4 separate regions of the Homo sapiens genome follow, and regions 1, 3 and 4 are each linked to region 2. The links are contacts of gene promoters, found by promoter capture Hi-C in blood cells and fetal thymus (Javierre and others, 2016). All regions are on one chromosome and are shown on one strand. Each heading gives the region's core, a stretch centred on a gene start or on the middle of the fragment in contact. The rest is flanking DNA. Distances are from core to core; before and after follow the strand shown.

What was found. The method cuts DNA at HindIII sites, captures the fragments that hold promoters and counts their contacts. A CHiCAGO score of 5 or more calls a contact.
Region 1: a fragment that was not itself captured here is called in contact with the fragment with the promoter of ACVR2A in region 2 in 1 of 17 cell types (M0 macrophages); the score reaches 6.2 in M0 macrophages.
Region 3: a contact is called between a fragment that was not itself captured here and the fragment with the promoter of ACVR2A in region 2, in 6 of 17 cell types (non-activated CD4 T cells, naive CD8 T cells, naive CD4 T cells and 3 more). The highest score is 8.0, in non-activated CD4 T cells.
Region 4: a contact is called between a fragment that was not itself captured here and the fragment with the promoter of ACVR2A in region 2, in 2 of 17 cell types (non-activated CD4 T cells and total CD4 T cells). The highest score is 5.8, in non-activated CD4 T cells.

Annotation. Positions count from the first base shown.
Region 1 is chr2:147,067,564-147,073,546 of GRCh38, forward strand. No RefSeq gene overlaps it. Among named protein-coding and RNA genes, the nearest start is that of LINC01911, 230 kb to the left of the region's middle. The HindIII fragment of the contact is 1,520 bases long and covers 2,187-3,706 here.
Region 2 is chr2:147,843,740-147,849,586 of GRCh38, forward strand. It overlaps ACVR2A (activin A receptor type 2A), which reads left to right and starts at 1,290. Exons shown (of 11, transcript NM_001616.5): 1 at 1,290-1,468. The coding sequence starts at 1,414. RefSeq lists an enhancer at 1-390 and silencers at 517-706, 787-896, 1,652-1,731. The HindIII fragment of the contact is 3,923 bases long and covers 1-2,514 here.
Region 3 is chr2:147,296,068-147,301,858 of GRCh38, forward strand. No RefSeq gene overlaps it. Among named protein-coding and RNA genes, the nearest start is that of LINC01911, 460 kb to the left of the region's middle. RefSeq lists an enhancer at 1,607-1,716. The HindIII fragment of the contact is 458 bases long and covers 3,658-4,115 here.
Region 4 is chr2:147,281,947-147,287,565 of GRCh38, forward strand. No RefSeq gene overlaps it. Among named protein-coding and RNA genes, the nearest start is that of LINC01911, 450 kb to the left of the region's middle. The HindIII fragment of the contact is 163 bases long and covers 1,611-1,773 here.

The sequences.
Region 1 (5,983 bases), core at 1,697-4,196, 770 kb before region 2:
ACTATTACTGTTATTTTGTTCATATTTTAAGATGTTATTAACATATGATGTAATCTTTGTAACAGTAATGTTACAAAATCACTGGTGAAGAATGGGATGGACCCCATAATTCTGTTGTTCTGAAGTTTACATATAATTTCATGGAACATATGTCCTATTAATGGAGGCTTTGGATGACTAGAAATGCTCATAACTGAGCTGCAAAGGTGGTGGACATACTTTCTGAGGTGTGTCACAAAAAAAAAATTTCAAATTGGGTGTTCCAAGAAAGTTTTGTTCTCTATTCAAATTTTTTATTTCTTTGAAATCTAATGGTAAACATATAGAACAGGAGTATGAATTAAGGTTAACCTGAGATTAGGCAGCTGACTTGAGGACACCTTAGGCTTCTATTTCTTCATGTTCTTTTATAATTTCTCCAGGTTATTTTTGCAAACCAAAGACACAGAACTCTAGAGAACATGACAGCAGGTGTCAGAGGGGTTCAGCTCACATCTGACTAGAGCAGCCATGCCCAGCAGGCTTTTCCTCATATAGAAACATAAGTGAAACACCTCTGGGACCACAGAAACTTGTGGAGTTGGGGAAATGTGGAGAGTGCCAAGATCTCACAGAAGCAATAGAAGAATGTTGAGACACTGACTGAAATTCCAATGCAAGGTAGTATAAATCCCAATGCAATCTTATTCCTATCCACAGGCTGGTGAAACCTGATAGCATATGGTTATACATAGAGTCAACAAATATTACTTGAGAAGTTAATAATTAACGTGTTCAAAATATATGTGTGTGTGTGTGTGTGTGTGTGTCTGTGTATGTGTGTGTGTGTCAATTCTAGGAGATACTCATTTTAAAACGAGAGACTAGGGTCTAACCACTTGGCATATACTAATCTTGTTTCTAGTTGAGCTTCTACTGAATGATATTGAGTCTCTGAATAAAACATATAGAATACCTCAGTTTTTTTATTATTATTTTATTTAATTAATTAATTTATTTTCTTTTTAGAGACAGAGTCTTGACCTGTTGTCCAGGTTGGAGTGCAGTGGCATGATCATGGCTCACTGCAGCCTCGAACTCCAGGGCTCAAGCAATACTCCCACTTCAGCCTCCCAAGTAGCTGGGACTATAGGCTTGCCCCACCATACCCAGCTGATTTTTTTTTTTTTTTTGGTAGAGACAGGATTTCATTATGTGGCCAAAGCTGGGAAAGCCCCAGGTTTTAATTCTGGCTTTCTTAACCTTTCTTGGGTATGATTGTGTTTTTCCACTTATACTGGGTATATTCTTCAGCTATAGAATACAATAACTCGAGAAAATAGACACTGAAGGAAACTTGCGCACCTTCATTTTGAATACCAGGAAACAAAACGTATCCCAGGCCCATCACAATCAATATGGTTCCCTCTCCCTTTCTACCTTGTTGCTTCCAGCTGTTTGTCTTCAAGCAAATGCTATGTCTGATCATCAGGATTATTAAGGAAGTCAATTATCAATTAGCAAAACCTTAATTAACTGCTCTCCCTTTAGCACCTGGAAACTCTTGGCTCTCCACCATGTTCTTCTGCTCATTGCCCCCAAAAGTACTCTTCCCACATCTTCTTTATCCCTAAGTCACTCTTGCTATCAGCTTTGCCTGAGATGCAGCCTTCCCTGACCTCTTTGTGTTTCCTCCATCACATTATTCTAATGATCTTTTCTCTCCTTGATACTCAAGTAGAGTCTTGTGCCAAAGTTATGAGGTGGAAAGAAACATAACATGTTCCATACCTCTAGAAACTAAATGTAGCTGGTGTATGGCCATGCGGTTTTACTCAGGATGAATTAGAGAAATAGGGTTTAGTTAGATAACATCTTACAGTTCACCAGTTAAAAAAAAAAAAACTAAACTTTTATCCCAAGCACAATTCAATGTCGTTGTAAAATGAGAGGCATACACAATATATGCTGAACATTAATGAAGGAAAGAGACCATATGAGCTGTGTAAGGGAAGATTTCACAGAGAAAAGAGCCTTTAAGGACGGGTAGGATATGCATTGCCAAAAAAGAGGCAGAGATGTCATGGATATAAAAGTCATGTCTGGATGATGCTAAATCAGTAATTCTGGCTGGAATGATGTTTGGGGAGAGTAGTGAAGGATAGGAGTAAAAAGCCAGAGTGGAGCCATCCTATGAAAGTCTTTGAAGCTTGGACTGATGAATTTGTACTTGATCCTCAGAACCAGGCTTCTCCCATGCCTTTTACTTATTTGTCTCCCAGAATCAGCTTTGGGTCCTATTTGCTCTCCTTATCCATCTGCCTCATGGTGAAGAGGTGCATGCATCTGTTCTGAGATTCCTGTCAATTTCTCCATGAGGCAGATGGTCTATTTCTGATTCCAGACTTTGCCAGACCCCCCTGAGTTTTTCATCCTCTAGCCCCGGGGATTTATTGCCAGTGTAGCAACAGATACCATGTGGCAGATGAGTGTAAAGAATAAGTTTCAGTAGATGTATTCACCAAGGGGCCATTCCAGCTCATTAGCTCATGTCCTTTTTCAAAAGGTAGTGTCTTCTTACCAAAAGATGGAATGGCTAAGAGGAAGATTAATGCAATTTAAATTGGGATTAATGTAAATTATTTTATTGATTCTCCTTAGATTATTTTAATCACTTAGTTTTTCTCCCCTACAATGATTTTATTATTACATTCATCCATTTTGGATGGACCAAGAGACAAAGAAAGTTATTGGATGTGTCCATTTTTGAAACTGGCACCTATTACAGATCTAAATCAAGTATCATTAACATCAGACCCCAAATTTTCTAGTCTGTCTCTTCAGCAATAATCAAAGCAATGTGGGTCAGCCAGAGCTAGAATCTCCTCTTGTCTAGCTGCGTTATGAACTTTAACCAGATCTCACCTATACCAATATGATACATTGTGTCTTGCTAAGCTGTTCATCATCTAAACCAGCTATGATATTTCCTTAAGTTCCATAGCAAAAAACTGCTTTTGGGTCTCTAACCTACGATCACAAACTGTATACCAACAGTTGCTGGCCAAGGAGAACCAACCAAAACTGGGCTGAAATCAGTATAAATTAATTCTTTGCTTGAAAATATAAAATCCCTAAATCCTTTCCCTAGAGATGGTAAGCCAATGACAGTTCTATGTGCAGAAGAGTTGTAGATGTATTTAGTGCACAGAATTAGATTTTCTCCAGCTACAGGAAACCATATGACTTGACCACCAAGTATAATGTCAATGGTCACTTTTATTTTAAAGTCCACAGTTACTAAAAATCACTTAATTAGAATGCATTCAAACTTGGTCTCAAAAACACTGCTCTCATAGATGCGACAGGACAGATTTCTCTCCAGTTGGAATGGGATTTTTGCTGGTAACCAGGCACAGGAGTTTCAAGACTTGTAACAGAGTACTGAGAGTGAATGAATGATGTCCCTGATAATTTTTTTTTAGACAACCCCAAGCCTGGCCTTTCTTTCATTAATGGGTTCAGTTGGAAGGTAGACCTGGGAAAGGCAAGGGGAAAAGAAAGGAATGGGAGGAGAGGAGTATTCTACTTAGAAATAAAATCTATACTCATTTACAACTGAGAATGTCATCTTTCTTTGGTAAAGGATTAAAAAAATTCTCTTTTTAAAAGATTATAATATTTCCTCTTTTCAGAGTTCAATAAGATATCCACCAGTTTCTTCTAAAGCTTTTGAGACCTTGCTTCAAACACACCACTGAAGAACTAAGTATTCTTAAATATCATAATGCTATTTTTAAAACTAAGAAAAGTTTTTTATTTGAAGATTATTTTTTTAAAAGCAGAATAAAAACTTGGCCTAGAGTCCTGAAAATTTACTTTTTATAATACTCAACTCCCAGAGCAGATCTTCATCTCATTTCACATTCAATATTAGAATCTCACCATTTCCATTTAAGCAAGATTTAATAAAATGCATGCTGATTTTACAGTTAAAATAGTGGGAAAAAAATAGTTGAAACAGCGGCAGAGTTCCCCCTTTTGTCATTTTCATTCTTCCTTAAAAAGGAATCAGGCAGAGAATCCACACATGGGTGTACACATGTACACACACACACACAAACATTTTCCTTTTGAGTCCCTGACGCTCATGGTCTAAGGAAATTTATTTAACATTTTACATAGCTCAAGAGGTATCTCTTCTCAGTGTTTGAATTCTACTGAGGAGAACATAAGAATGCTTTTTTTTTTTTTAAAAAAAAAATAGATTTAGGGAGTACAAGTGCAATTTTCTTACACAGGTATATTGTTTAGTGGTGAAGTCTGGGCTTTTAGTGTATCCATCCTCTTAACAGCAAACACTGTACCCAAGATGTATTTTTTTAATTCTTGTCTCCCTCTCATCTTCCCACCTTTTGGAGTCTTCAGTGTCTAATTTTTCCCCCTTGTATGTTCATGTGCACCCATTATTTAGCTCCTACTTATAAGTGACAACATACATTATTTGGCTGTCTGTTTCTGGGTTATTTCACCTAAAATAATCGCCTCCAGTTCTGTTGCTGTAAAGGACATGATTTTATCCTTTTCTATGGTGGAGTGCTATAGATAGATAGATAGATAGATAGATAGATAGATAGATAGATAGACAGACAGACAGACAGATAGATAGATAGTGTGTATATATATATATATATATACACACATATATAAGTATATATAAGTATACTTATATATATGTATATATATTCTTTTCTATGGCTGAGTGTATATATATAAATATGACTTTGCTATTGTGAATAGTGCTGTGATAAACATAAAAGTGCAGGTACTTTTCTATATAATGATTTCTTTTTTTTTCTTTTCATTTTTTTTTTTTTTGAGATGTCACCCAGGCTGGAGTTCAGTGGCATGATCTCGGCTGACTGCAACCTCCGCCTTCCAGGTTCAAGCGATTATCCTGCCTCAGCCTCCTGAGTAGCTGGAATTACAGGCTCCTGCCACCATACCTGGCAAATTTTTGTATTTTTAGTACAGATAGGGTTTCATCATGTTGACCAGGCTGATCTTGAACTCCTGACATCAAGTAATTTGCCTGCCACGGCCTCCCAAAGTGCTGGGATTACAGGCATGAGCCACCGTGCCTCGCCAACATAATGATTTCTTTTTGGGATCCAAAAGAATACCAGTAGTGGGATTGCTGGATCAAATAGTGATTCTATTTTTAGTTGTTTGAGAAATCTCCATACTGTTTTCCATAGAGGTTGTACTAATTTACATTCCCACCAACAACATATAAGCATTCCCTTCTCTCCACATCCTTGCTAACATCTGTTGTTTTTTGACTTTTTTGTAACAGACATTCTGACTGGTGTAAGATGGTACCTCATTGTAGTTTTAATTTGCATTTCTCTGATTTTGAGCATGTTTTCATATTTTTGTTGGCCGCTTATATGCCTTCTTTTGAAAAATGTCTATTCATGTTTTTTTGTCCACTTTTTAATTGGATTATTTGGTTGTTGTTATTGTTAAGCTAATTGAGTTTCTTATAAGTTCTGGATATTAGCTCTTGTCAGATGCATAGTTCACAAATATTTTCTCCCATTCTGTAGGTTTTCTATTTACTCTGTTGATTGTTTATTTTGCTGTGCAGAATCTTTTTAATTAAATCCTATTTATCTATTTTTGTTTTTGTTGTAATTGTTTTTGAGAATTAGTCATAAATTCTTTGCCTAGACCAACACCCAGAAGAGTTTTTTCTAGGTTTTCTTCTAGGCTTTTTTTAAATTTCAGGTCTTCCCTTTAAGTTTTTAATTAACCTTTAGTTAACTTTTGTATATAGTGAGAGATAGGGGTCCAGTTTAATTCTTCTGCCTATGGCTATCCAATTTTCCCACACCATTTACTAAAGAGGGTGTCCTTTCTCCAGTGTATGTTTTTGTTAACTTTATTAAAGATCACTTGGCTGTAGATATGTGGCTTTATTTGTGGGTTCTCTATTGTGTTC
Region 2 (5,847 bases), core at 40-2,539:
GTGATAAATGGCGTGAATATCCTGAGCGGGTGGACAGCCCTTCCTCCGTGAGTTTTTTCTTTTTCTTTTCTAGTCACCAAGACAGCACGCGTGTGCAGAAGCTGCAGCGGTGGGACGCAGTGCTAAGTCTGGGGGCGCACACACCAGCTCGCGCGTCGCGAGCTCGCCTGGGCAGCTCGGCGGGCGCGGCGAAACAGCTCCCACGTCCGCCTTCCACCGACTCCTCGGTATCAGAGCGGACGAGGCGTCCCCCCAGAGGAAAGACTGGGCGCCGCAGACGCCCCTTGGAGAAGTCCCTGGCCACTCGCCCCACCTCGGGGTCCTCTTCCTCTTGGGCTTCTCCTGACCCTTTGGGTGGGCGCTCCAGACAGGCCCGTCGGACGCGATTTGGAAACGGGTCGTGCCCGGCCTAGCCCGCATCTACTCGCCCGGCCACAGCCCAGCCACAGCTTAGGGACTTTGAGGCGCCCGCGCCCCTTTGTCGCGGTATCTCTAGCCCAAGCAGGCCGGACGCCGAGGCCTCGCGGTATCGAGCCTCCGTCCGCCCCGCCTCCTCGCCCTCCACTCCGCCCCGCCCTCGCTCTCTCACCCCTCCCCCGCTCCCGCCTCGCTTCCCCGACAATCTCCTCGCGCTCCCGGCCCGGCACGCGCGCTGCGCCCGGCCGCCGCTGCCGCCGCCGCCGCCGCCGCCGCTGCCGCCGAGCGTTCCTCCGCTGCGCCTGGCTTCCAGCTTCGGGCCGGAACCGGAAGTTTGGGGGGCGGAGCCCGGCGGAGGCCAGGAGACCGAAAACGCGGCCGAGCCCGGAGCCCGGAGCTGGAGCCAGAGCCTGGACCAGAACTTGGCCGCCGCCTGCACCGCCGCCGCCGCTGCCGCCCGCCGCCCCTTCCCCGCGCCGCAGCCGCCTCGCCGCCACCGCCGCGAGCTCGGCCGCCAGTGGTCCTCGGACTTTAGGTGTCTGGGTTGAAGGTCGGTCCGGACATCGGACCCAGTCAGTTCCCAGACTGTCCGGGCGGCAGCGGACGCCGCTGCCGCCGCCGCCTCTTCGTCGCCTCAGCCTGGCGTTTTGTTCCGAGAGACGGGAGAGGCGAGCGGAGCTGACAGTGATTTTGACAGTGATTTAAACCCGCTTTTGTTGTTGTTGGCTTTTCGTTGTTTGGTTTTGTGTGTTGTGCGTGTGTGTGGCGGTTTTTCCCCCGTGGTGCATTTTATTTTTTATCGTTGTGCTCTTTTTTTTCTTTTTTTTTTTTAACCCAGTGAGCGTTTTTTTTTTTTTTTTTTTTTTTTTTTGGTCTGGGCTTCCGAATATGTTTTATGACGGTTGATTTTACACCAGGAGGTTTGTCTCCGAGGAAGACCCAGGGAACTGGATATCTAGCGAGAACTTCCTCCGGATTCCCCGGCGCCTCGGGAAAATGGGAGCTGCTGCAAAGTTGGCGTTTGCCGTCTTTCTTATCTCCTGTTCTTCAGGTAGGTGCAGGGAGCGCGGCGCGGTGGGGCTGCTCCTGCGGCCGCGGCGGCCGCTGCTGGGGGCCGCGGCTGGTGTTGAGTCGGAGAGTCCAGTGGAGCCTGGGGAGGTTGCCCACTCCCTGCGCCCCTCGGCTGCCACCGCCCCCCCCCCCCGCCCCCAGGTCTGATTGTGATCTGGAAACCTCCATGCATTTTTCTCTTTTTGAGTTGGGTCGGCGAGCTGATAAGAGTGAGTGCTGTGTTGTTGTGGAAGTGAGAAAGTCATGTTTTGTGGCCATAACACTGGATGACAGCGCTGGTTGGGTTGCAATTAAGCCGCAAATACCACAAGTGACAATTTATGCAAAGGTTGAGATCTGAAAGGAGTATTTAGTGTGGGCTCCTCCAAAACAAGGGTTGCTTTTTGTCATCGTTTAATTAGTGCTTCACCGGTGAATATCACGACATAGATCAAGCCAGTTGCTGCTTAATTTTGGCTGTGGGAAACAATACATCCTATCAGCAATTTAATCTGGGTCTCCCCTCACGTTTTCTTCAACTTCAGCGTCCAGCAGTGTTAAAAATAGTTGTAGTTGTTGTTGGAGTATTAACTATAACCCAGTGCAGAAGAGGTATGCCGCTTGGTATTGGTAATGTGCTGGCGTTCAACCACCATTTGTGTGCTCTTTTGGGGCATAGATTTTGCTTACCTACGGAATACTTATTTTAAACGCTTTGTATTGAAGCATTGTTTTCGGTTTAGAACAACCCATGTGAAATTGTTTTTGTTAAATATAGTACACTCATAAAATAGGTTTTAGCTCAAGGTTGGGGGAATAAACGGGCCATTTTATATTGGAAATTTTGATTTTGTGAGGACGTTCTATGGTTGCAACCAGTGGTTGGAAAAACTATCTAGTCTTTTGTATTTGAAATTCTATAAATAAATACAGCATCTAGCTGAAAGGTGTGCAGATGTACATAACAGGAGAGTTAGTTCAATAGATGAAACATTTTAAATAAGTCTCATTGGATCTATTTATTGTAAAATTTAATATTCAGTTACAAGCTTGTGGCATAGAATTACGGGGGACTCTTGGAAACGGGGGCGAATTGACAGGTTTCATGGCCATGTCTTTATCTCGTTTGCCACAGGAAAATTAAAGGGTGGTAGTCTTCTTTGTGTACCTCTGTGGGGTGTGTGTGTGTGTGTTTGTGTGTTTGTGTCCGTCTTCCCCACCCCCCTTTAAATATAATCTTTTGTAATGTATAGAATTTTGCTGAATGGTACATTTCCTTGTGGTTAATAAATGGATAAAGTCTAGTCTTATGTCTGTAGTGGTATTGATCAGTTCCGGGTGGGCTGAATGTGTTGTGAAATGGCGATCATTGCCAGAGATTAACCAAAAGAATCATGTCTGTTTAAATGGAAGAAGGAACATGCTTAAGGCAGGCTGACAGTTCTTTTTGTGCACGGTTTGGGAAGGAAGCTAAACAATGGTGTGTCTGAAATGAATGAAGGCCTTGATAACATTAAACCTCTTGCTTTTGTGACATGACTTAACCATGTAGTTTTTATCTTTCCAGTAGTACTCTTTTTTCCTCTGCTTCTATATGTTGTGGCTGGTGAACTCCTCTTGTTCAAATCCCTTGTTCTGATCTCTTGCCCTTGAGGAGGAGGGGCATCATGGCCACTGACCAAGGAATTGTGGACATTATTCCCTCTCAAACCCACCTGAGTCACACTAATTGATGAAGGAGGTTATTCTTGAGCAGTCTCAAGGTATTACTTCTTGAAAAGCAGGCTGTCGCTACAGATCTTACAGCTTCTTCTGCTTGGTTTGGTAGTAAAAATAATTGAGCATTAGTTTCTTGTGGGATTATTTTCATTGGGCCAGGATTATTTTCAGTGGGCCAGGAGGTTAATAGCTATAATTTTGAAATAAAGTGATTTTGTTGCTGTAGGGCATATAGATATTCCACTTATATTAAACTAATATTATGTTGTTGCATAGGCTTTTTAAGATGAACATTCCCAGTTGAACTAAAATATGTGATTCTGTTGAAGATAATTGAAATAATCATAAAGACCTTAATCCATATTTATACATGAACAATTTGAGTACTTAAAATGTCTGATTTTTAAAAGCCTTTTGTTATGGATCAGATGCACTCTAAAAAAGGATTATTATGTTTCTCCAACTAATTGATTTTTCTACAAAATGTGTGATCTGACATGTTGGAAGCATGAGGTGACTATTTTTATGAGAATTTTAAAAATTCTCAGGTTGTCAGTTTTTCATTTCTAGATATTTGATTTTTTTTAAAAATCAAAATGGGAAACAATAGTAAGGAACAGTTTTGTTCCAGGTGTTTAGGAGGGATGTTTACTATTTCGTGGACTCTGATTTTTCAGTTTCCATCCCATGGTATGTATTCTGGAGACTGATTATGCAGACTATTCCTGTAGGATATGGCCAAGTGTATAATTTCCTCCTCTCTCTCATTCCAGGGGAAACATTTTAAATTTTGCCCCTATCCTGGAGTGCCTTCAGATTACCTTTGATTTTGAATTTTTTCATTCCTCTCATACTTTCTCAGATTCTGTTTCAAAACATAAATCTTAGTTTTCTTTTTATAGCATTGTGGTTTATTTGTGTCTTTCCCCACAGTTTGTTGAAGTATGAGAATGACTTTAATACTTGCTTTAGTACTTAGATTTATCCTATCTAGAGTTATGCAGCTATTGTGGTATTTGAGTTGCATAGAAGTAAGTTGAGAATTCCTTTGGATTTTGTGGGAGCTGGAGCAGTATGGTCAATGTATTTGATGAAAGAGGAAATGGAAATATGGTAATTATGTTTTCTTCAGTTCAGCTAGGCAGTACTGTGTATGTGTGAATGTATGTGTGGTTGGAGGGGGAGTTAGCATTACAGAGAATCTTTTGGGATTCTTTTGAACTTTGATTAACAAGTGATGGATGATAAATACTTTGTTTTCTAAAAGGCAGAATCTCTTATAAATGGTGTCTGTGGTCAAATTCAAATATAATACATTGAAACATGGAGACTAGAAACAAAATGAAACAAAATTCTCCCTCCATTCATTTTCTATTTTTTTTTCCTGTTTATGATCTAAGCCAACAGTTCTCAAGCTGGGGTGAGTCCCCCTCCCTACTTCCCCAGATCCCCATCCATGGGACATTTGGAGACATTTTTGGTTGTCACAACAGGGGACGGGGTGTGCTACTGGCATCTAGTTGGGTAGAGGGCAGGGATGCTTCTAATCGTCCTAAAATACATGGTACAGCCTTCCACAACAAAGAGTTAGCTGGCTCAATATGTCAGTAGTGTAGAGGTCAAAAAACCCTGTTCTAAGAAAACCAAATACCACATGTTCCTATAAGTAGGAGCAAAATGATGAGAAAACATGAAAACAAAGAACAGAACAGCAGACACTGGGGTCTACTCAAGGATGGAGGGTGGGAGGAGGTAGATGAGCAGAAAAGATAACTATTGGGTACTGGACTTAATACCTGGGTAATGAAGTAATCTGCACAGCAAACCCCATTATACGAGTTTACCCATGTAACAGACCTTCACATGTACCCCCAAACCTAAAATACAAATTAAAAAAAAAGGAAAAACTCAGTTCTAAACTCTTAAATTTTAAAAGCAGTAGTTTATTAGTAAAAGGGCTCTGCTCTCTTCCCCCTAAAGTTAGTAATCTAAATTTTACAAGTACATGGTATTGATGATCTCCAGGTAACGTTGTATTGAAAGATTTTTATCTTTTCATTATCTTTTAAATTAGAATATGATTAAATTAGAGAAACAGACTATAGATACGCACATTCTTTCATCCTTGATGAAATGCTTGAGAATTCACCAGTATAGTATAATATTTTATACTATAATAAAATATTCCAATGACTTATGGATAAACTCTCCTATCACCGATTTTGATAGAGTGCTCATGAAGACTGCATGTTCCTGGACATAATGAATGATTGGTTAAGGTATCAAGTTTAATTATATTTGCTTTAGATCCAGGATTTTCTTTGCCATGATATGATCTTTAAGGATATTTGCCTTTATTTTTACTGACATCATTGGGCTGCCTTATGGCGGTATTCGTGTGTGTGTGTAACATGTTGCCTGAAATATGTTCACTATTACATGTTCCCTGAATAGTTTCAAGGTAGAAATTCTGTTTTTTTAAAAAAGATATTTCTTTTGTCTAGCTAACTTTAATTTCAAGAAACTTTTAACCTAATCTCTTAATTACATAATTATCTTGAGAATCACTAGCTGGGTTTTGGTTACCGTTAGACTAATTCATGATACAGTAAGTAATATTTTATGATCTATTGCAGATCGTTTCCCTTTTTAAGGCTAAAT
Region 3 (5,791 bases), core at 2,637-5,136, 550 kb before region 2:
AGTCATGAAACTCTAGATACTCAAAGATGAACAAGTTTATCCTACTGCCTTCAGACCAGCTCAGACCAGCACGTCATCATTCCCCAACACTAAAAGGCTCTTGAAGGGTGTAGGTTAAGCTTTAAGACCCTGTAAATATAAAGATTCATCTTTATGCCAATAAAAATAATTTCTCTTACCATTTAAGCCAAACGTTCTTGTTTTACTAAAAATCAAAAGCAACTGGTAAATTTTTTTCCATAAAGAAACGATTGTATGCATTTTGAAATTCCCATTAGGAGCTGGGGACAGATCACCACAATCCAGTAGAGACTTAAGTAGATCATGGCTAGGCTACATTTTGGTAAACCTTCATCCAACTCTGGATCACCCCTCCGATGTGAACCCTCCAGGAGTCCTTACTGAGAGACTGGTAAGCTCTTTCTGCTTAATAGGTCATGACTCCAATTATTTGTCTCTTTATCTCCATGAGAGTGCCCAAAGATGCCCCACTCGCTTGTCAGAGTGTGACTTTCTGGTTTGCTTCTTAACTTCCTCCTCTGCCCAACTTAAGAATTCCACAAAAACTCAAGGGAAGATCTGTAAAGGTTGGGTATCTCTAGCATCTTGGCCCCTCGAGCATCTCCCCTCTCTCCAGCATCTTGGTCTCTCAAGTCCTAGGAGCCTTCATAACCCTGAGCTTTAATTGTTTTCTTTGCATTGTGGATTTATCAGAAGTTCTGCTGGCTTCTCTGCCTCTTAGCTGCAAACCCCTCTAGGATTTTTAGACTCTCTCCACTGGCCAAGAATGATAAATATCTCTGGAAGGAAAGCAGCTCACAAAATATCAACTCATCTCTCAATAATTACCTTCTTTTCTAGTAACTTGGCCCCTAAGTTACCTCAACTGTTCACCAAATTCTTCAAATACATCCTTTTTATATTTTGTCCCATTTTTCTATTGTTCTCAGTGGGAGTGTTGTTCTACCATAAGCTAATACATCATGCACTTTAGGATCTACTTTAATGATCTTTTAACTGAACATACATCATAGTTTAACATGACGCAATTTAAGTGCAAGTTCATAAAAGAACTAGCTCCTGTCCCCATTTTTCTGTGGCATCTTATTATTTCATGTGATATAATTTGAATAATGGAGAAAGGGTGGGTCTCTGCCCAAAAACATTTTATTCACATATATTTGTTACTTAAGATCCAACTTTAGGAAATATGTTCAAAGAATTATCTCTGTTCATATATAAATATCTCTAGAAGAAGTTTGGCAGTCATTAACATTGATGACGACGGATATCAGACTTTTATAAGAGGAGGAAGATAGAGGAAAAATAGGAGTCCAGGTCCTGCTAAGGAGAGAATTCCATGACCGGGTAGCCAGGAAAAAGAAAGGAAAGCCACAATGTGAGAAAAGTACCCTGAGAGGATCAAGCTTTTCTATATCCCAATTTTGGCCAGGACTGGCTCTAACCTGTCAGGATATTGTACCTCTATCCAGATGAATAAATACTAGGAAGAAGCTTAATGTTCAACAAGGTTGGATACTCTTCTTAGGGGCTGAAAGGGAGCAACTTTGTCTGCTGGCTTTGTAGAGGGTGTATAGCCCAACTAGGCCTGACCTATTCACTCCTTTTCTAATTTTCTTATTAGTAGACAAATGTTTCCATTGATCCAGCATGTTAATTTTTTTTCCCCGAACAATAATGAAACACATGGAAAAGTCTTGTGCTTGCATAGAAAAAAGTAACACATATGAAAGAAATGAAACTTTTGATCTTAAAGTGCTTGTGCTGTGAACAACATGTGCTAAATCAAACACTTTCTGTATACCCAAACTTTAGTCTTAGATTTGGTTTGGACTAAAGTAAGTTCTATTACTCATTGTGAAATGGGTGTGTTTCCTGTTTCTCTGGAAATGGGTGCTGGTTTGCATCAAGAGGCTTCATAAAGAAAGAGAAAAACCGCAAATCACTATACATGATCAACATTTGCCATTCTACTAGCACGTTGCTACAGCTGCTTCCAGCTTTGCTGGGGTAAAACACTGACACCTGTTATTCAGCGAGGTATATGTGGGATGGATGGAGCCATGAGAGGGAAGCCACAATGCCAACATGCTGCAAATGGCATTTTATTTGTTTCTAAAATTAAATGAAAATGGTTACAACCCTAGCCAACCTTGACCTTGGGCTCTCAGGGCCAAATTTGTTCTAAAACCAAGAAATAACACCTATATCTCAAAGATTCACAGGTGGAAAGAAATGGAAGACTACTCCTACAAGCAATGATTAATTTCAAATTAGGTGAATAAAAAGGAAATAATATTTATTAAACTCCTACCACATACCTGCTAGGCTCAGGGCTTATTGACCTTTTAACATTTAACTTTCACATTACTCCCATGATAGCTGGGATTATTCTCATTTTTCAAAACAGAAATTCATGGCTCTGAAAATTTGGATCACTTCCTGAGATGACCCCACTAATGAATGGTAGGTATGAGATTTAAGGCTGGGTGCTTCTGATTTCAAAGCTCATTGCTCCATGATGCCAAAATATCCACTTTGTATCATCCTGTCTTCTGGATTTTTTGAAGACCTTACTGCCATAGTAGACCATATTCAATGCCTTTTAAAATCACATGGAGGCATGTGTGCCTTATGTTTCACAGCGAGACAGCTCCATACGTAAGTTAAAGCCTGAGCACATAGTTGCCAGGGCCCTGATAATATCACCCTGGCATAAACTGACATAGTGGTAGGCCTCCTCAATTCAAGTTCTGTCAAATCCAATGACTTAATTAAAGCCCTGGGAATGATGGGAATTTCAATAGCAGGGCACTCTGGGAGCTTTCTATAATCTAAAGCAAATACAGAAATAAAACTACAGGAGAGAACCTATCAAAACCACAATATATCTATTACCACGGCTGTTTCTTCTCAGACACTAGGCTCCCTCCTGAGCCTATTATTAAGTGCAAATGACCAGGCTCAGTTACTGTTATTTTTAAAAACATTACTTATCGTGCATTGTGTTCTGAAACTTGTTGACTTATTTTAATTTGCATAATTATAGTAATTTTCTCCTATGTCAATGCTGTAGGATTATATTAGGATTTTGCCTTTTATTTAAAGAACTTTGCAGGTTCAAAAGCACATTGTTGTCATATCACTTTTGACCCTTTCAGGCAGTTGAGAGGCAGTGATGATGGAAGAATATATTTTGCTAAGTTTACTTCTTGGCTCATGATTGGAAGAACTGGCAGAGGTTTGAGAGACCAAAAAAGGGAAACAGAAATGAAAGAGATTAGGAGAGTAAAAGAATGTAAGGAGATGTCAAAACAAAGGGAAGACAAGCTCCTCCTCTGTAGAGCTTCTTCAGAGTGTACTTTAGTGTTTATTATAACATTTGCTTTTTTTTTTTTTTTTTTTTTAGCAACTCAGGGTACTTGGTCACATTTTACAGAAAATGAACTTATGAATAATTACTCATCTAGTTTGCCTTAGAGCCAGGTTAGAAAAGAAACCTGTATCTCTCAGCTCTTGATCAAATGTTCTTCTCCATGGAATAAATACTTCGTCCAAGAAGATTTGCACAGCAAAATATTCAAAGGACTGCTAAGCTATTAGGTGTCCACCCTTACATTGTAGAATAAATCAGGAAGCTTTCCACTGTGTGATCAATTCATTTATTTTATTTTTAAGAAAAATTGTCTATATTTACTTACCATATGTCCAGTGCTTAAATTCTACTTCCCCAAGTATTTTCACAGGTACCCCCAGGTTCTTCTGGTATGTCTTGAAACCAAAAAAATAACAAACCCCTGATAACATCAAGACAGCAGGATTCAGAACTTGGCTCCTGCCCATCAATCCCAAGTCCAAGGCTGTCCAAGGAAAGTACAGTCAGGTTCACATAAAATCCAAAACACTCTCCCCGAACTCCAAAAGGGAGATGAAGATAGAAGCTCATGGCCCTAGAAGATGCCATTACCATTCTGTTCCTTATTTCTCTTTTTTCTAAAGCTCTGTGGCCCCTCAGTCAGTGGAAGGACAATCAAGCAATTGAAACAGCCCAGAAGGACATGGGAAGAAAGGGGGCAGCACAGGGACGCCAATAAAGCTTACTAGTCTTGTAGAGAAGAAGAAGGGTTTCTGCATGGGCCATCTGACCCTGCAGATGAATTTCCAACTTTCTTCTAAGCACGGTCCACTGGATCACTCATCATGCCTTCAAATGCCACAAGATCTAAGTCAAATATATCCTCTTCTCCTCTTAAGCCAGTTTTTCTTTATAATTCTAAATTATAGAATTATAATTTACTACTTACTGCAGGAAGGTTATGAGGACCAGATGAAAGAGAGAATATACAAACATCTGTAGGCACTCAGAAAAAGTTGCATCAACTCTTAAAATGATTTTTCTCATTTCCAGTGTCATCACACAAATTAAGCCTTTATTGGAACTCACACTGATAATTGCAATATGTTCTGGCTTAATGGCTCTCAAGTGCATTGGCCCTAGTGTTCTCTTCCAGTATTATACACGTATGGATGCCACAGTCAAAACATCCCTCCCTGTTATCAGAACACCCCTATGCTTCCTCCCTATTTCTCGGTTTCTTCCCTAGTATCCCCTTCCCATGGAATGTTCTGCTTTCCCTTCTCTTAGCGCATCTCGAATTTCTTTACTTCCATAAAGTCTTTGTTTGATTTTTCATATTACATCTGATACCTACCATATTGTCAGTACATTCTACTCTAAGAATTTCATTAGTGTCTTCCTTGTACCACTGTCCAATTCCTTGTGTGTTAATCATATGTCCCTGTTTCAGCTTCTGCGTCCCAGTTTAGAACTTCTTTACATCAAAGTCTTACTTATCTTTATATGCTCAGGGTCTAACATAATGCTTTCCACAAATTTTTATTGTTTTCAATGTGTTCTTGGAAATACTTTTTTTTTTTTTTTTTTGAGACAGAGTCGCGCTCTGTTGCCCAGGCTGGAATGCAGTGGTGAGATCTCGGCTCACTGCAAGCTCCGCCTCCCGGGTTCACGCCATTCTCCTGCCTCAGCCTCCCGAGTAGCTGGGACTACAGGCTCCTGCCACCACACCCGGCTAATTTTTTGTATTTTTAGTAGAGACGGGGTTTCACCATGTTAGCCAGGATGGTCTCAATCTCCTGACCTCGTCATCCGCCCACTCGGCCGGAAATACTTTTTTTAACTGATCATATAGTAACATAGGATACTATCAAATTGAATTGTAATTACTTAGGAAAGAAAACTATACAGCCAGCTTTGAGATTCCCAGAGATTACTTAAGATGTCACCAAAACATGATTGAAAAATCAGTCACTAATCTGAACCAAGGCAACTCTAAAATAAGCTATTATGTCTTAGAATAGAAATAAGAAATGTTTTAGCTACAAAAATAATAGTATTGACTTTAAATATGTTATTGAAAATAATCTCTCTTATTTGTGAATATATATTCACATATATGGTGACATATATGGCATATATATATATTCATACATATATATTGATGACATATATATATATGTGTCACCAATAAGAAAGCTGAGGCTTAGCAAGAATGAATAGTTTGTGTAAGGCAGCATAGGTAAAGAAGAGTTAAACCAAGACTCAAGACAAGCCTTTCTGTCTTCACTGGCTGTGCTTTTCTCATCACTTTGCACCAACTGCTAGAGTTTTATCAACTCTACTTATGAAAACTTCAAGTCCTTCCTGGGTTTGGGAATAGGCAAAGAAAGATTAAAATACAGCATTTCCTGA
Region 4 (5,619 bases), core at 442-2,941, 560 kb before region 2:
GAAAACCCTATCATCTCAGCCCAAAACTCCTTAAGCTGATAAGCAACTTCAGGAAACTCAGGATACAAAATCAATGTGCAAAAATCACAAGCATTCCTATACACCAACACTAGACAAGCAGAGAGGCAAATCATGAATGAACCCTCATTCACAACTGCCACAAAGAAAATAAAATACCTAGGAATACAGCTTACAAGAGACATGAAGGACCTCTTCAAGAACTACAAACCACTGCCCAAGGAAATAAGAGAGGACACAAACAAATGGAAAAATATTCCATGCTCATGGATAGGAAGAATCAACATCATGAAAATGGCCATACACCCAACATAATTTATAGATTCAGTGCTATTCCATCAAACTACCATTGACTTTCTTCACAGAATTAGAAAGAAACTACTTTAAATTTCATATGGAACCGAAAAAGAGCCCATATAGCCAAGACAATCCTAAGCAGAAAGAGCAAAGCTGGAGGCATCACGCTACCTGATTTCAAACTATACTACAAGGCTACAGTAACCAAAACAGCATGTTACTGGTACTAAAAGAGGCATATAGACCAATGGAACAGAACAGAGACCTCAGAAATAACACCACACATCTACAACCATCTGATCTTGGACAAACCTGACAAAAACAAGCAAAGGGGAATGGATTCCCTATTTAATAAATGGTGCTGGGGAAACTGGCTAGCCATATGTGGAAAACTGAAACTGGGCCCCTTTCTTACACCTTATACAAAAATTAATTCAAGATGGATTAAAGACTTAAATGTCAAGCCCAAAACTATTAAAAACCCCAGAAGAAAACCTAAGGAATACCACTCAGGACATAGACATGGGCAAAGACTTCATGATGAAAACACAAAAAGGAATTGCAACAAAAGCCAAAATTGCCAGGTGAGATCTAATTCAACTAAAGAGCTTCTGCACAGCAAAATAAACTAGCATCAGAATGAACAGGCACCCTACAGAATGGGAGAAAATTTTTGCAATCTACCCATCTGACAAAGGTCTAATATCCAGAATCTACAAGGAACTTAAACAAATTTACAAGAAAGAATGAACCCCATCAAAAAGTGGGCAAAGTACATGAACAGACACTTCTCAAAAGAAGGCATTTATGTGGCCAACAAATACATGAAAAAAGTTCATCATCACTGATCATTAGAAAAATGAAAATCAAAACTGCAATGAAATACCATCCCACACCAATCAGAATGGCATTTATTAAAAAGTCAGGAAACAATAGATGCTGGTGAGGCTGTGGAGAAATAGGAATGCTTTTACACTGTTGGTGGGAATGTAAATCAGTTGAACCATTGTGGAAGACAAGGTGGTGATTCCTCAAGGATCTGGATCCAGAAATACCATTTGACCCAGCAATCCCATTACTGGGTATACAACCAAAGGAATATAAATCCTTCTACTATAAAGACACATGCACACATATGTTTACTGCAACACTATTTACAATAGCGAAGACATGGAACCAACCCAAATGCCCATCAGTGATAGACTAGATAAAGAAAATGTGGTACATATACACCATGGAATACTAGGCAGCCATGAAAAAGAATGAAATTACGTTTTTAGAAGGGACATCAATGAAGCTTGAAGACATCATCTTCAGCATACTAACACAGGAACAAAAAAACCAAACACTGCATGTTCTCAGTCATAACTGGGAGTTGAACAATGAGAACACATGGACACAAGGAGGGGAACAACACACACCAGGGCCTGTTGCGGGGTTGGGGGCAAGGGAAGGGAAAGCTTTAGGACAAATACCTAATGCATGCAGGGCTTAAAACTTTGATGATGGGTTGATAGGTGCAGCAAACTACCCTGGCACATGTATACCTAGGTAACAAACAAGCACATTGTATACATGCATCCTATAATTTAATGTAAAATAAAAAAAATTTGTCTAGTTACAGAAACATAAAGAAAGTAATATTTTGGCATCTCTGTGACTCACGCAGTTTGTACACTGCTACATAACATACATTTTCTCTCCAATAAAAGGGTTCAGCTCCAAAAATCCCTGTGTCAGGAGAATTCACATTTCCAAAAATAAGTATAAATAAATAAGCTTTTAAGAGAAAGTTAAGACTGGCCCATCAAGGTTGTGGATTAACCTATGAAAGTTTTTATAAGTATAGTTTTTTTCTTTATTGAAAGCCAAACAATAAAGAATAGCATAATAAAACATCTCCCCAGCATTTTCAACAACATACCTGTGTATTTATTATGCCTTATGGTAGACAATATGCCTCGGCCCTGCCCTATACATATTATACTCCACATAAGTTACAAGGCTTTCTGGGTAGGTGAATGACTCCTTGACTCCTGTCTCCTGAATCACACAGTGACCCTAAAGAAGTACAGTAACTTGGCTGGAAAAAGCCTTAGGCAACTTTTATTTCAGTTACTACGCATATCAAAAAGTTACCTCTTAGGGCTTCCTTATACTCACTCACAGAACTTTAGCTCTGCTTATGGGGCTAGAACACATTCACCTCTCCTTCCTCCAGCCAATATGATGCAATTCTAACTTTGCTTCAGCCACCTTAATTTCTCCCAAAGCTGCATTTTAAAAACCATTCTCCTGCTCTGCCACCTGCTTTACTTCTTTTTTGCCTTTTCAAATTCGCAAGTCCTTACTCCCTCTTTTTCAAATTATCCCCAACAGGTGTGCATCTAATCAAAGTAAGATTTTCCTGATTGTGGAAAAGTGTACAAAAGTAAATTCACAGATGTACAATTTCATGAAAGAGAAATTGAATTTGGCAAGGGCTTTTTATAAATGCAATTATGTGTGAAAAGTGCTACAGTAGTGCTGTGGACAAAGTGCTAGGGAACCATTTGAAAAAACTTTTAAGCTTAAGCACCAGGCAGCTGGAGTCAAGAACAATTTCTTGTGGTAGAAACCTTTGCCAAGAGAATTCACATTTCTACATAATAAGTCTTTAAGGAAAACATAAGATTGGAAAACCAAGGTTCTGCGTGAAACTATGAAAGTTATTGTAACTAACTTTCAGTAGAGACTGGCTCTGTGCTTATAAATCTGCTGATAAGAAAACTACAGTCAAATTAACATGTTTCATTTACTTATCCATTCATTCAACAAATATTATTAAGAGCCTAATATACTCTTACTTCTGTGTTGAGTACTGGCAATGTAAGGGTAAGTAAATACACATCCTGACCCTGCACTGGATGATCTTTAGAGTTTGGATTTCCCATGCAACAGCTGACTTTTGCCCATAGAAAGCAACAGACCCGAGGGAGAAAAAGAAAAAAATCTTCAATTTGCTGTGCTTTTTAAATTAAATAATTACATCTAAAAGAAGATCAAATTTTTGTGCTTATGTCCATTTAACATTTTATGCTACTTTATAATTTCTTACCTTAACACTTTTTTCCTGATACTTTAAAATTTAATCTTTAGTTTGTATCCCTCTTTCAGAAAGCTGGATACTATGAAATAACATCAGGCTACATTCCTTTCACCAATAAAATCTAAAATCATTGTCATGGGAAGGTCATGATTCTCCCATTTCAATAGGACTAGTGATCTACTCCACTCATGATGTGGGAGAAACCATATTCAGTCTTCACTGGAACTGGGGCATTCATTGATTTATGAATACATGGATGCATGCAGGAATTCATTACAACAAATATTTGAAGAGAAATTACCATATGCTTAGCATTGAACTGAACCATGAGGATATATAGGGTAATAAAGGATAGGACCTGCCAACTAACTGCTGCTATTACTATTAATAATAATAATAATAATTGAATATCAGTGCTATAAAGTATGAACAAATTACTTTTGGAGGAAGGATTGACTGGACCTACCAAAGTAGATGGATAAAAATTTCACAGAAGAACAAATATTTGATTTAGTCCTGTGTTAATTTGGCCCTAAAATATAATTTGTGATTAAAATAGGATCTTGTGAATGTGTAGCTCCCATATTCTTTAGCATTGTGTTTGCTTATTGACAGTATATTTAATTCTACATTTTCTTTGAAGTAAGCCCCCCATAAGCAATAAGAAATGTTACTTAATTTGACTAGCCTGTTGTGAAGCACATTTTAAAACCCAACTTTTCCTAATGAATACTCAACCTCTAGGTATTATCGTTTGAATAAACTGTTCTAATTAATGCTTTGTTGTAAATAGCTTCTTGACTTCTACATAAAGTTAATCAAGTTGGATCTTAGAGTACTATCTGATGGTGTCCAGCATGACAATGATGTTTTCTAATAGGTGGCTCCTCTGAAAATAAGTTTTATGAAGGTCTAGCCAATAGTCTCTCAGCTGTCATTATGGTATTGCCCTAAATCTTCTTGGCAAATAGTTATAGTACTAGTTAGTACTACTGGAACAGAGAATCAGTCATAACCCCAATACTCAATACATAACCATGGTAATTGAGCTTGAAGATTGATAACAACATTGCAGAACAATAAAGTGTTTTACTTCCTAAGAATAGACTGTGTAACTCTAAACTCTGAGCCTTCTAGAAGGAAGGCTGCCCCTGAGAAATTGACATCAGGGAATTGGCTTTTTTACCCTCTCAATACGATTTCACAGATATCCTGAAAAGTTGCCTGCATTTGGAAGGCATGCAAATACTCCAAGTGTCCTGAGCAGTCGAGAATAGGCAGACAGAAAGAAAATCCCAGTGAGAATGGCAAAGAGAAGTTCCCAAAATACTTGCTCATATTCTCACTCCAGCCAAGTGATTTCATTGGCAGTGGGTCATCATTGTGGAAACCTGAAGTCCATTGAAACTTCCTCCAACAAAGGGCAGTATGGCTTTTCATCCCCTCTAAATGCTTCATACATTATAGCCTTAACATAAAATACAGGACTTACATTCTTCTATCCATTAGCATTTCTCTATGGATCAACATAAGCCTGAGATGACTGCACAGGCTATTATCTGGTATGTTAAAGAAATACAGTTGATCTTGACTTAAAATTGTTCTACACCATTAACTTCCAATGCCACCACTCTCTGCATTTGACCCAGTAAAAGTAAGACCTAAAGATAAAGCAATAAAATAAAAAAGGGTGCCACCACTTCTTTATTACACCCCTTTCTTGGGTAATCAGAGTGCTGTTTTTGTAACATACCCTTGTACCCTACAATCTTTCTAAATCCTTTCCATGAAAGCAACTCACAGGAAATAATTGGGAAGAAAGGAGGGCGAAAATGTCAATGCACATCGTACCTTTGAAATTCTGATCCCCAGAAGTAAAGAGTTACACACAGACAAAAAGAACTCTGAAAATAGTATATGCTGCAAATAAAATTTTTCTATTTCCCCAGTCATTTGGCCACATCTGGTGGTAAAGGATGCTGGAGAATACAGTCTAGCTGATGACAAAGAGTAAAAATGTTTTATTAAACAGCTGACAGTCTCTGCCTCTGACAGTACAGTACTAGATTAATTCCATACAGATAAAAGAATTTTCTCAGAAACTGGCACATCATCCTACCTTCCTGCTATATATCTATGTAAGGAATTTTTCCATTGTTCAGGACTATGGTGACTGTAACCGGCACCTGGACCACTTTGGGTCTATCAAGCTTAAA